Regions from separate parts of the Homo sapiens genome. Here region 1 is linked to region 2. Evidence: promoter capture Hi-C in human tissues and cell types (Jung and others, 2019). All regions are on one chromosome and are shown on one strand. Each heading gives the region's core, a stretch centred on a gene start or on the middle of the fragment in contact. The rest is flanking DNA. Distances are from core to core; before and after follow the strand shown. Region 1 overlaps CD86 (CD86 molecule). Region 2 holds the start of SLC15A2 (solute carrier family 15 member 2).

Region 1 (6,375 bases), core at 14-2,513, 180 kb before region 2:
GTGGGGCTGCTTCCTCCACTGCCTCATTCTCCAACGCTCTCAGGACTGAAGAGGCCAAGGCTGCAAGTAGAAGCAACCAGAGGAGGACAGGCTACACACAGTAGCTGGTGTGTGTGGGTGTGGAAGTTGACCTCACCAAACTTCACCAGAGAGAGTCCCCTGAGGACCACACAGTCAGGATCTACTCCATGTGCCAGAGCCAGAAACCCGTGGGAGTCTAGAAACATCTGAACATTTAGCTGAGTTTTCCAATTTCAGCCATCTGTTTGTTGTTATATGGAAGTGGCCTCCTGCGGCCAGTGGTCAAGTCTAAAAGCACTCTAGGAGGCGGTGCTGATGGTAGTTCTAATACAGAATAGTTTCCACAAATAATTAGAGCAGCATTATTTATTGAAACGTTAATTAGTGTTTGTTTTCTAAGCTTTCTTGATGCAAGGGGGAAAGCAGAAGAGATACAAGTTCAAAGGTTCATCCAGACTTTTGTGAAAGCCCATGGAAGAGATGATACCGGTGGCTTAGAGGTGAAAAGAGAGGAAGAGAGTGCTTTTGAAGTGCAAGAAGAAGGGAGGGCAGGGGATGGTTGTCTGGGTCCTGTGAGCAGTAGAAACCCAACTGCCCCTCCATCAGTGCTCCCGAGGGGGTAGCAACCTCAGGTGTGATGGCTCATGCCTAGAAAGGCAGCATGCTTTGCTCATGGGGCCCAGCATCAGTAGATATTCTCATTCCCCACTGTGGCATGGGGGCAGGGAGCTGCCGGACTTCACAGACCACTATGGGCTCAGATAGTAAGGGTGCCAATGGCAACCAGGACAGACTAGGGACTTGAGGCCCTTCCATCATTTTCCAGTTACCAGGTGAACTTCTTGAATTCTGACTGGGCTGCAGGAAAGGAAGGAGACTCCTGCATGACCCAGTTACAGTCTCTTTTTCAACTGGCAGGATTGAGGCTCACCAGTGGGATTAAGTTGAGTTAAAGGAAATTTTCAAAGTGATGATTTCATATATACTTGGATTCATGGACAGAAATTCATATCCTATGCATAATATAATCTATGTGAGAAGGGCCAGGATTTCACCGTAAACACAGTTCCTGAATTATTCTTAATTTAGAAGTGATGCAGCTCAGGACTGGGTTGTCTTCTTACTCCCAGCCCTGCTGCACAATTGCCAATAAAGGAGGATTGTCAACCACAGCCCCCAGGACTTGACACTCCCCTTTAATTAAACCCTGCTGGGTCCATAGTTCCCTGACATCACCTGAGAGTGAACATAAGACATTTGCAATAAATTTTTATTTTTACTGCTACTGTAAATTGTATTTTTAAAACCCTTCCTCCTTAAAGCAGAAACATGTATCAACCATTATATGAATAAAAAGACACGCCAAAGATTGGGGAAAAAATATTTGCAAAAGATATATCTGATAAAGGGCTGGTATCCAAAATACACAATGAACTCTTATAACTCAAAGATAAAAGAACAAACAGCCCAATTTAATAAGGAGCAAAAGATCTGAACATATACCTCACCAAAGAAGGTACACGGACAGCAAATAAGCATATGAAAAGGTGGTCAGCATCATACCTCATTAGAGAATTGCAAATTAAAACAGTAAGATACCACTACACATCTAGTAGAATGGCTAAAATCCAAAAATCTGACAATACCAAATGCTGCTGAGGATGTGGAGCAATGAGGCTTCCTGTTGCTCCACATCCTCAGCAGCATTTGGTATTGTCAGATTTTTGGATTTTACCCATTCTAGTAGATGTATAGTGACAGAGCCCTCAGAAATAAGGCCGCATATCTACAACTATCTGATCTTTGACAAACCTGAGAAAAACAAGCAATGGGGAAAGGATTCCCTGTTTAATAAATGGTGCTGGGAAAACTGGCTAGCCATATGCAGAAAGCTGAAACTGGATCCCTTCCTTACACCTTATACAAAAATCAATTCAAGATGGATTAAAGACTTAAACATTAGACCTAAAACCATAAAAACCCTAGAAGAAAACCTAGACATTACCATTCAGGACATAGGCATGGGCAAGGACTTCATGTCTAAAACACCAAAAGCAATGGCAACCAAAGCCAAAATTGACAAATGGGATCTAATTAAACTAAAGAGCTTCTGCACAGCAAAAGAAAATACCATCAGAGTGAACAGGCAACCTACAAAATGGGAAAAAATTTTTGCAACCTACTCATCTGACAAAGGGCTAATATCCAGAATCTACAATGAACTCAAACAAATTTACAAGAAAAAAACAAACAACCCCATCAAAAAGTGGGCAAGGGATATGAACAGACACTTCTCAAAAGAAGACATTTATGCAGCCAAAAGACACATGAAAAAATGCTCACCATCACTGGCCATCAGACAAATGCAAATCAAAACCACAATGAGATACCATCTCACACCAGTTAGAATGGCAATCATTAAAAAGTCAGGAAACAACAGGTGCTGGAGAGAATGTGGAGAAATAGGAACACTTTTACACTGTTGGTGGGACTGTAAACTAGTTCAACCATTGTGGAAGTCAGTGTGGCGATTCCTCAGGGATCTAGAACTAGAAATACCATTTGACCCAGCCATCCCATTACTGGGTATATACCCAAAGGACTATAAATCATGCTGCTATAAAGACACATGCACACGTATGTTTATTGTGGCACTATTCACAATAGCAAAGACTTGGAACCAACCCAAATGTCCAACAATGATAGACTGGATTAAGAAAATATGGCACATATACACCATGGAATACTATGCAGCCATAAAAAATGATGAGTTCATGTCCTTTGTAGGGACATGGATGAAATTGGAAATCATCATTCTCAGTAAACTACCGCAAGGACAAAAAACCAAACACCGCATGTTCTCACTCATAGATAGGAGTTGAACAATGAGAACACATGGACACAGGAAGGGGAACATCACACTCTGGGGACTGTTGTGGGGTGGGGGGAGGGGGGAGGGATAGCATTAGGAGATTTACCTCCTAATGCTAAATGATGAGTTAATGGGTGCAGCACACCAACATGGCACATGTATACATATGTAACTAACCTGCACATTGTGCACACATACCCTAAAACTTAAAGTATAATAAAAAAAAAATAAAGAAAAGAATGCAAAATGGTAAAACTACTTTGGGATATAGTTTAGCAGTTTCTTAAAAAAGTAAATATACTCTTACCATATGATCCAGCAGTCACACTTCTAGGTATATTTACTCAATTGAATTGAAGACTTATGTCCACACAAAACCTACACGTGAATATGTATAGCCACTTTATTCATAATTAGCAACTAAGATGCCCCTCAGTTGGTAAAGCTGTGGTATATCCAGACAATGGAATATTATGTGGTAATAAATAGAAATGAGCCATCAAGATGTGAAAAGACATGGAGAAAACTTAAATTCATATTGCTTAATGAAAGAAGTCAATCTGAAAAGGGTACATACTGTATGATTCCAAAGATAGAACATTCTGGAAAAGGCAAAACTGTGGAGACAGTAAAAAGATCAGTGGTTTCCAGGGGTTGGGGAGGGGTGGGAAGGGTCAACAGGCAGAGCACAGGGGATTCTTAGGGCAGTGAAGCTATTCTGTATGATACTATAATGGTGGATACATGACATTGTGTATTTGTCAAAATCCATAGAACTGTACAACCCAAAGAGAGAAACTTAATGTAAATTATGGGCTTTAAATAATAATAATAATGAAGCAACAATGGCTTGATCGTAAGAAATACATCACACTAATGCAAGATGGTAAAAATAGGGGAAATTGTGTTCCACAAAGGGAGTAGATGGGAATTCTCGTACTATGTGCTCAATTTTTTGAAAATCTAAAACTGTTCTAAAAATAAGTAAAGTCTGTTAATTAAAAAAAAACACACATGCTAACCACATACACGGATTTCTGGTAAAGTAACTAAATTAATAATGTGACATTTTAGAGGGCTGCTAGACTAGTGGGAAAGAAAATTAGCATCAATTTCACAGTCCACATGTTCACTTCCCTATGTTGCACCCTTGGAATCAATGCTATACATAGAACGTTGCTGCAAAAAGTCTCCTTTTGTATTTCTGCCTTTTATTTTGACACTTTCTGCATTTTTCTGGTGCAGAACCCTAGACTTTTATGTCAATTCCTTAGGTAAATTAAAGAAAAGGCCCCAGTTTTCTAAGGGCCAGATCAATTTTTAAAAATAGCTTTCAGTTCCATGTTTCTGAAGGAACATTCTTAGAAATGTAATGAGTTTCTTGTTTCTTTGAGGGGCGATACAATTTTAACTTGTACTTTAAAAGCAAATTTTACATAGTTAAGCATTAGAAGTTGAGTATTTTTCTTTGTGTGAGCCAAAATTTTGCATTTATACCATACCAGTGAGTTACCGAGGTGGGGTAGGATGGACCCTCACTCTCATAACCTCTAACATGTCCTCCACTCCCATCCTAGGCTGGCTTTTTCTGCCTCCCTAGCTGCCCTGGGGAATCTTCTTTTATTTACTTTCTCATGATGCAAATTCACACCTACCATTCATGCATGCTAAGGAAGAGGCAATGTGTATTGTTTTCTTGCATTCGATCAATTTCTGAACCCAGAAACTAGGACCCAGGGACACATTTTTGTCTAGATGTCTTCAAGCAAGAAGTCAGAAAGGCAAGGGACACCAAGAGGTATTTTCAGGATTCTACAAGTGAATGCAGAAGACTGTCTGTCTTCACTATCTCTCAAAATCACATGGTGGCTTCAGCAGCAAAATACACTTATTTGAATTGAAGACTGAATTTGCTTATATTAAAAGGTAGGTTCAGGAAAAAATTGTCAAAAGGGTAAGCATTAGGGTGTATGCATTTTAGAAAAAGTACCATTGTACTAGGGATAAGTATAGCCTTCAGATGTGCAGTTGCTTTAGCAGAAAGGGCAATGAGGAAGATGAGAAGGATGGACAGAGCTCAGGATAGAGCTCAGGCTAGTGACAACCGCAGCAAGTGGAGAACCAACAACCCCATACCCAGGGTCTAAGTGAGGTCTCTGGTCTGATGGAGACAGGGCAGAGTGGAGTTGCGGTGTTCTGGGGCATGCCTAGAATCAGGAGCTCCTGAGAAGTGTGTGGAGGAAGGTCCATCTCTGGAGGAAGGCCACAGGGGCCAGGGGTAACCTGGACCACAGGACAGGGAAGGAAGGCTAAGCCAGAGAAGGACTGTAGTGTGGGAAACTGATGGGCTCACAACTCACCCCATGGACATGGACACTAAAGACCACAGTCTAGCGGCAAGACTACATCCAGAGCACCCCTCCTTCCTCACCTGCCTGTCGTGTATCTCAACACCTAATGGCAGGGGTTGGCCAAGGTTTCAGAGGTGGTGCCAGGGCTGCATAGGAACTGGCAATCACTATTGACTCTAGCAACACACAAATATGCACATTTTCATGCTTTACCTTTGTTCCTATCCATCTTCGAATCTCAGTAATTTTTCCCATTTTCCAATAACACCTTAAAATTCACAGATGTAATTGCACAATTTGGAATTTCTAGTTTTTTTTTTTTTAATTTCCTTCATTCAATTAACAAATGCTTAACTAGCTCTGACTGAATGAAGGCCTTGGACTGGTCTTGAGATCCAAGGTGAGCTAAGAAGTGTGGTCCCTGCCCTCCTAGAGACCATAGTTGAATGCAGGAGACCTACACTGATTTAATAAAGTCAAGGTACTTGCCACCAAAAGATGTTCAACATTATACAATTTCAGTTATGTATGATATCCTCATGATTAAACACCATCTTAAGAGCATGAGGTAGATTCTAGCTAGTTGTGTAGGTTACAACTAAGAAAAGTTTTCCCCTGGTCTCTTGTCTCAGGAATAGTTTTCTCGATATATCTCTTCTCCTTCTCTTCGTATTTTAAATGGTTAGGGTGCCTGCATAAACATTTGTCATGGATAACACTGTAGAGAGGACTTCCTGGGGGAAGGACGGTCTAAGTGATTTAACTTCCTTTCCAATTTAATAATTCTGTATTCTAGTTATGCAATAGGATTTACAATCTAATCTTACAATCTCAGAACTTCTTCTGATAGGTTATACAAAAGATGGTCTATTATTTAACAAATAACATAACTATGTAACATATTTCTAATCAAATGAAATATATACAGCAGCACATTTAAAAATTAAATATCAATAAACTACCAACACCTGTGATGTCACCTTTCAGAACTCAAAGTAAACACCTGATTCCAAAACTTGTTATCCTTTCAATCTTTATCTGAGAATATTAAACCAATATTCAAAAGACTGTGATTCTGAATTTAAGTGGCCTATTTGTCTAAGGGTGTGCATTTACGTATTCTGAGAAACT
Region 2 (6,365 bases), core at 1,110-3,609:
ATGCCATCATGCCCAGCTCCACCCACTTACCCATTCTCAAAGTCTATGTTCTGGTTTGTCTCAGGCCTTTCTGATCTTGGCCTACATATTAGGTGAAATCCTATGAGAGATTTATTGGAAGTCTTGGCCAAAGTAAAGGACCAATTTGGACCAAGGCAGAAAGAGTGGACTCGGGAAATAAGTGCATATAAAGAGACCAGGCTGTCACAAACATGGGGTGAGGGTGGGTGGAGGAGAGTAGGTAGGACTCTTGGACACAAAATTACCTTTCATTCCATAATAGGAAAAGCGCTCGCAGAATTCATTCACCACAATGAAGGCAATGCTCAGTGGATAGTTGGAGCCACAGATTGTCTATTCAACAAGAAGGCAATGATTCAAGCATGAGCTGTTTTTCCCTGTTTCAACAATTAGATTTCTTCAAAACTGAAAAATTCATTTATTTCAAATCATCTTGGTAGGTAATGGAGCAATGGTCTCTACTCTTCATGACACACCTATTAGGTAACACTAAAAGTGCTTATATTACTGATTTAGAAATAATAGAAGCTACTCTGAATATTATTTTGTTTCTTATTTATTTTACATGGACTTGCTCAAATATTCCTTGGACCTGCTCATCTTCCCACAACTACTAAATGAAAAGCCTAGGGCTCTGGGGCAGAAGAATGGTGATATTTACTTCCTAGGAACAGAATAAAGAGGTAGCCTATGGAATACCTGATATCCAAGCAGTGAGATTCAGATGTCAGTCTCTGCTTAGCCCCACTATGGGGACTCTTGTCCCCAGCTGTTCTGTTTGCCATGCTGGGAGGAATCCTGGCAATATGATAGCTTCTACTTCAGAGGCTGCTGGAGTCAGGCACAGAGCCCAACATGGAGGACAGAGATTCCTAAGGGTAAGCTAATTGATCACCTTGACTTTAGGCAGAGTTCTTAAATCCTGTAAAATTAAATGTCTACTCTTCCTACTAAAGAGATTCTATAACATTTTCATGATAATCCTACTGGACATTAAAAGAATTATGCTTTTCATGTAATATATCAGTCAGAATATAAGGAATGTTATGTTTTATTTTAATTCCCTATCTATTACAATAGACCAACTAACATGAGAAGAGACATAGAGGTATCTGTCCTCAGTACAGTCAAATCTTGTAAGATTTATATTGCCTCATTTCATGAGAAGTATATACATCTTTGCAAGTAGCCCTAAATTCTTTGGGACCAGAAGAGATATCATTAACTAAAAAAATAGGCAAAATAATAAAGTAATGTATTATTCTTTTAACCCTAGGGATATATATAAATGATCCTCCTAAATATTAATATATTTTAATGTTTTATAATAGCTTGTTTGAAACATACAATGAACTGGGCTTCTTACCTTTGCAGCTCACAGCTTGAGAATTATGCAATCTGGAGTTTAGCCGACACACTGTTAGCTAGTTAGGCAACACTGCCACTGGCTGTGTTAACATACTGATACTGGCATTGTCACTACACCTGTCTCAAAACCTCTGTTCTGTTATTCCAAAGAAATGAGAATAACATCACCTTTTGGCCCACTGTAAGAACTCAGTAAATTTTGGCTATCATTACTATATCCTCCCCACTTACAGAATTTTAGTGTAAGAATTGACTGAGATGATGAGTTTAGAAGTGCTTTAGCGAGTATATAAATGCAAAACATTACTATTCTCTGTTTCTCTGTCCTATCTCCCACAGTAAACTGGGAACACATAGTAACAGAAATTGGATCTATTCTGAAACTTCCATTGGTGTTCAGCAGAAGACTCTGCACACAGGGAGAACTAAGGGCAGAGTTTTTATATTGGTAAAGAAAGAACAATCACACACAGTTCTTCAGACAAGAATGCTTGCCAAGTTTCCCTGGACATTCGAATTGCTTTTTTCCCCCAGGGAAACAGAATATGCAATGAAATTCAGCAAGTCCCTGGATCCCAACTGAAGAACTTTGACTACCTCTTCCTGCTGCTTTGTCTTCTTATGTAAAGGAAGCTTCTGTTTAGATTTGGTTTCAGGTGAATTCTAAATCCAAGAGAGAAGCATTTTAATACCCTAATACAGCTCAGCTGGAAGCTCCAGAGCCCAAGGAAGAGAGCCAAAAGAGGGAGGCCATTCCTCTCAGAGGCAGGATTGAATCTAAGGACTCACCGGAGATGGCTTCTTTGGAGGGCTAGGTGGTCGAGGTGGTACCTCTTCAATGGAGACAGGTGAAAAAAGAGTTTCCTTGGACTCATTTTTCTGGAAAGGATTCATGGCTGGCTCCTTACTCTCTCTCTCTCCTCAAGCATTTGGCTTTAGTAGGCAGTTAGGACAGCTGCCAGCCTACTCTGAAAAGAAGGACTGGGAGGGGGAGCTGGTGGCTTCAGCAACTCAGTTTAACTCTGTGGGTGTCAGCTTCAATAGCTTCCTGATCCAGAGCAAAGCAGGAAGCTATAGTTAAAAAGAATGTGTAAAAGTACAGCACAGCAAAGTGAAAACATGCCAAAGACAGAATGAAACAATGCTAGAGAACTGATTAGAAAGTCTATGTTTAAGAAAGATTATCTTTGCAAAGGAGTAGAAGATAGTTAAGAACACAACACCTCGAGCACAGATTGAAAAACTGATTCCATGGTCAGGCGCGGTGGTTCACGCATATAATCCTAGCACTTTGGAAGGCCCAGGCAGGCGGATCGTTTTAGGTCAGCAGCCTGGCCCACATGGTGAAACCCCGTCTCTACTAAAAATACAAAAAAAAAATTAGCTGGGTGTGGTGGCGGGCGCCTATAATCCCAGCTACTCAGGAGGCTAAGGCAGAAGAATCACTTGAACCTGGGAGGCGGAGGTTGCGGTGAGCTGAGATTGCACCATTGCACTCCAGCCTGGGCAACAAGAGCGAAACTCCATTTCCAAAAAAAAAAAAAAAGAAAAACTGATTTCAGGGTAACAATAGCTGTAATTTATTGAACATCTACTATTGAAAGGTTAATATATATGAATTACATCTATGTTGTATATCTATAACATATATATTTATTCTAATTCATATTACTATCCCCATTTTATAGAAAGTAATGTTCCCAGAGGTTAAGAAATTTGTTCAAAGTACCTGTCCACTAAGTGGCAGATCTGGAATTTTCACTATGCCATGACAGCTGGGAAAAGTGGAGTTAGTGTCAGTCATTATTCAGGTATGGAGGTTACATAAATGGAATGTAGGAATGCAGAGGATTAAAATGCATTGGAGAAGGAAAGTCATCATAAAACTGAGTTTGGAAGATAAGAAAGATGGTGAGTTTTGGCTGGGTGCAGAGGCTTACGCCTGTAATCCCAACACTTTGGGAGGCCGAGGTGGGCTGATCACAGCTCAGGAGTTCAAGATTAGCCTGGCCAACATAGTGAAACCCCATCTCTACTAAAAATACAAAAATTAGCTGGGTGTGGTGGCACGCGCCTGTAGTCCCAGCTACTCAGGAGGCTGAGGCAGGAGAATCGTTTGAACCCAAGAGGCAGAGGTTGCAGTGAGCCGAGACCCCACCACTGCACTCCAGCCTGGGCGACGGAGCAAGACTTGAAAGAAAGAAAGAAAAGAAGGGAAAGAAAGGAAAGAAAGAAAGAAAAGAAGGGAAAGAAAGGAAAGAAAGAAAAGAAAAGAAAGGAAGGAAGGAAGGAGACTTTTGTTTTCAACATCATAAAAGTTCAGCTAGAAATAGCCTATAAGCAATTAAAGAGGTGGGGCTAAAGAAAATGAGAGAAAAGGATTGGTGATATACATTTGGGAACCATTGTTCTTCTTTGCTAAAGTCACTCCTTATATTTTCATTTTCTCACTTCAAGATTAATCTATTCTTTCATTTAATAAATAAAATTTAATTTGAGCAAAAATTGTGAACCAGTTACTTTCTAGGTACTGTTGTGAACACCATTTTCCTTAATTATACATTTAGTCCTTATCAGAAGAGGAACAAGAACAAACATCATAATGCTAGGTGCATTTTATGCTGTGTTATTTTTGTCAAGCCAAAGAAGTAAAAGGATAAGAAAAGAGCATGGTGCCCCTCTAGTTGTTTGTCAAAAGAAAAGGGAAAAGAAAGGCTAGAGAGCTATAAAAGAAATAAGAAAAATGAAGACTAAATCAACAAGGTCAGGCAACATCAGAATGAATTATTTTATTTGAAAATACAAGAGAGAAAACCTATAACTCTATCCCTCACAAAATTTTTACTTTAACTATTCAAATAATTTATTGACAAATAGGGCCAGGATAAACTGTCTTTTCCTCTCTAAACTTTAACTCAGACTTTGACCATATCTTCTCAGCTTCTATTACACCCCTCATTTCTACTGTCTCCCACCAACCTTTACCCAAAGAAGAGTCCAGCTTCATTTCTGACTGTGGCATTAATAATTAAGGTATAGTTATTCTTTCAGGAAGCACTGCCATTTCTGAATTGGTTTGGTTAATGACTTTGGCTGGAAAATAAATGGTCAGAAGTTACTAGTCAAGTTAACTAGCAGAGGCACAGATGCCTTGAAGATCCACTTATGTTGTGGCTTTCCTTGATCTGGCAGAGTAGATGGAATAGCACCTGTATGCAATGTACCAATTTATTTGTGCTCATAGGTATCCCAAATACTAAACTTTGGAGTATTGGCAGTGGTTTTCTGACACTCCTTTGTTTAGACAAAATTCTTCTTTTGATTATGGCAGTATAATGATAGTATTCACAGAATCGAATAATATCAGAGATGGAAGGAATCTTAATCTTGTCCTATGTGAGTGAAACTTCCCTGAGGATAAGAATCATTTTCCTTTGGAAATTCCAATTCAGTAGATCTCGGTAGGGATCTAAGAATCTTTGTTTTCAACGAGCACCTCTAGCAATTCTTACGCTAGGAATTTGGGAAACACTGGTCATAAATTCTCTCCTATTCTATTTCAGAGGAACTCAGAAGGGACAAAGCAAGGACTGGAACCCTAGGCTCCCAAGGCATAGTCTTGAGCCATTTATATAATATTAAGATGGCTCTTAAATCCTATTATTTTGCTAACATCAGATAGAAGGAGAAAGAGAAGAGATAAAAAGAAAGCACCTCCCAGACAGAAATGAGCACCAACTATTCTGAGACAAACAATAAAAGTGAAAGAATCTAAGTATCAGTGATGAGTAAAGAATATTTGTGTCCTTAGTGATTACAACATCAGAAAACATTTATTATGACATATGATAAAGTTTTAGTTATATATACACAAAAGTAGACTGCTGCTCTAAGTTAATAGAATCTAATATAGTCAGAGAGAAGAGGAAAATATGAAATTAAAAGGGAACATATATTTAACAAGTTCTCTAAATTAAAATACACAAAAATAAATTGTATCAAACATCAGTCACAAAGAAATAGAAAAGGGAAATCTAAGGAATACATTTATATATTTATTTATATAAATAGATTTAGGAATAAATCTAACAAAAGATCTTCTAGACCTCAATATTAAAAACTATAAAATTTTACTGAAAGAAATTGAAGAAGATCTAAATAAATGGAAACATACCATGCTTATGAATTGGAAGGCTCATATTGTAAAGATGTCAACATTTCTCAAAACATTCTACAGTTCTAAAACAAAATCCCAGCAGGTTTTGTGAGTATAGAAAATGACAAGATGACTTTTTAAAGTCAACTTGGAAGTGCAAAGAGCCAAGGATAGCAAAGTCAATCTTAAAGAATAATGGTGGAGGATTGTATTACCCAATCTAAGACCTATTTTAAAGATAGTTATTATATCAGAGTGGAATTGACACAGATAACATAGGGCAACCAATGAAACAACACAGCGTTCAGAAAGTGATTCACACACATAATGTATATAACAAAGATGATGCTGTAATACAGTGAAGGAAATGATGTTGATTTCAATAAATAAACACCATTTGAATATCCATACCCCCTAAATTATTTTGACCCTTATTTTACAACATACACAAAAATAATTTCTATATAGATTGCCTATCTAAATGTTAAAGTAAAAAAAAATGTCTTTAGAGGAAAACATAAGAGAACATCTTTATGATTGTGGAGTAAGTCAGCATTTCTTTTTTTTCTTTCTTTTTTTTTTTGAGACGGAGTCTCTGCTCTGTCGCCCAGGCTGGAATGCAGTGGCATGATCTCACTGCAACCTCCGCCTCCCGGGTTCAAGCTATTCTCCTGCCTCAGCCTCCTGAGTAGCTGGGATTACAGGCACGCGCCACCACGCCTGGCTAATTTTTGTATTTTTAGTAGAGACGGGATTTCACCATGTTGGTCAGGCTGGTCTCAAACTCCTGACCTCGTGATCAGCCCACCTCGGTCTCCCA

What was found. Contacts are between HindIII fragments. The study calls those that stand out against the background at their distance.
Region 1: a contact is called between a fragment that was not itself captured here and the fragment with the promoter of SLC15A2 in region 2, in 1 of the 25 tissues and cell types used here (thymus).

Annotation. Positions count from the first base shown.
Region 1 is chr3:122,068,475-122,074,849 of GRCh38, reverse strand. The region is part of intron 1 of CD86 (CD86 molecule); the gene reads right to left. Among named protein-coding and RNA genes, the nearest start is that of CD86, 16 kb to the right of the region's middle. RefSeq lists an enhancer at 1-154. The HindIII fragment of the contact is 6,239 bases long and covers 1-4,382 here.
Region 2 is chr3:121,890,395-121,896,759 of GRCh38, reverse strand. It overlaps SLC15A2 (solute carrier family 15 member 2), which reads right to left and starts at 2,359. Exons shown (of 22, transcript NM_021082.4): 1 at 2,179-2,359; 2 at 267-354. The coding sequence starts at 2,283. RefSeq lists enhancers at 2,867-3,399, 3,400-3,933. The HindIII fragment of the contact is 16,247 bases long and covers 158-6,365 here.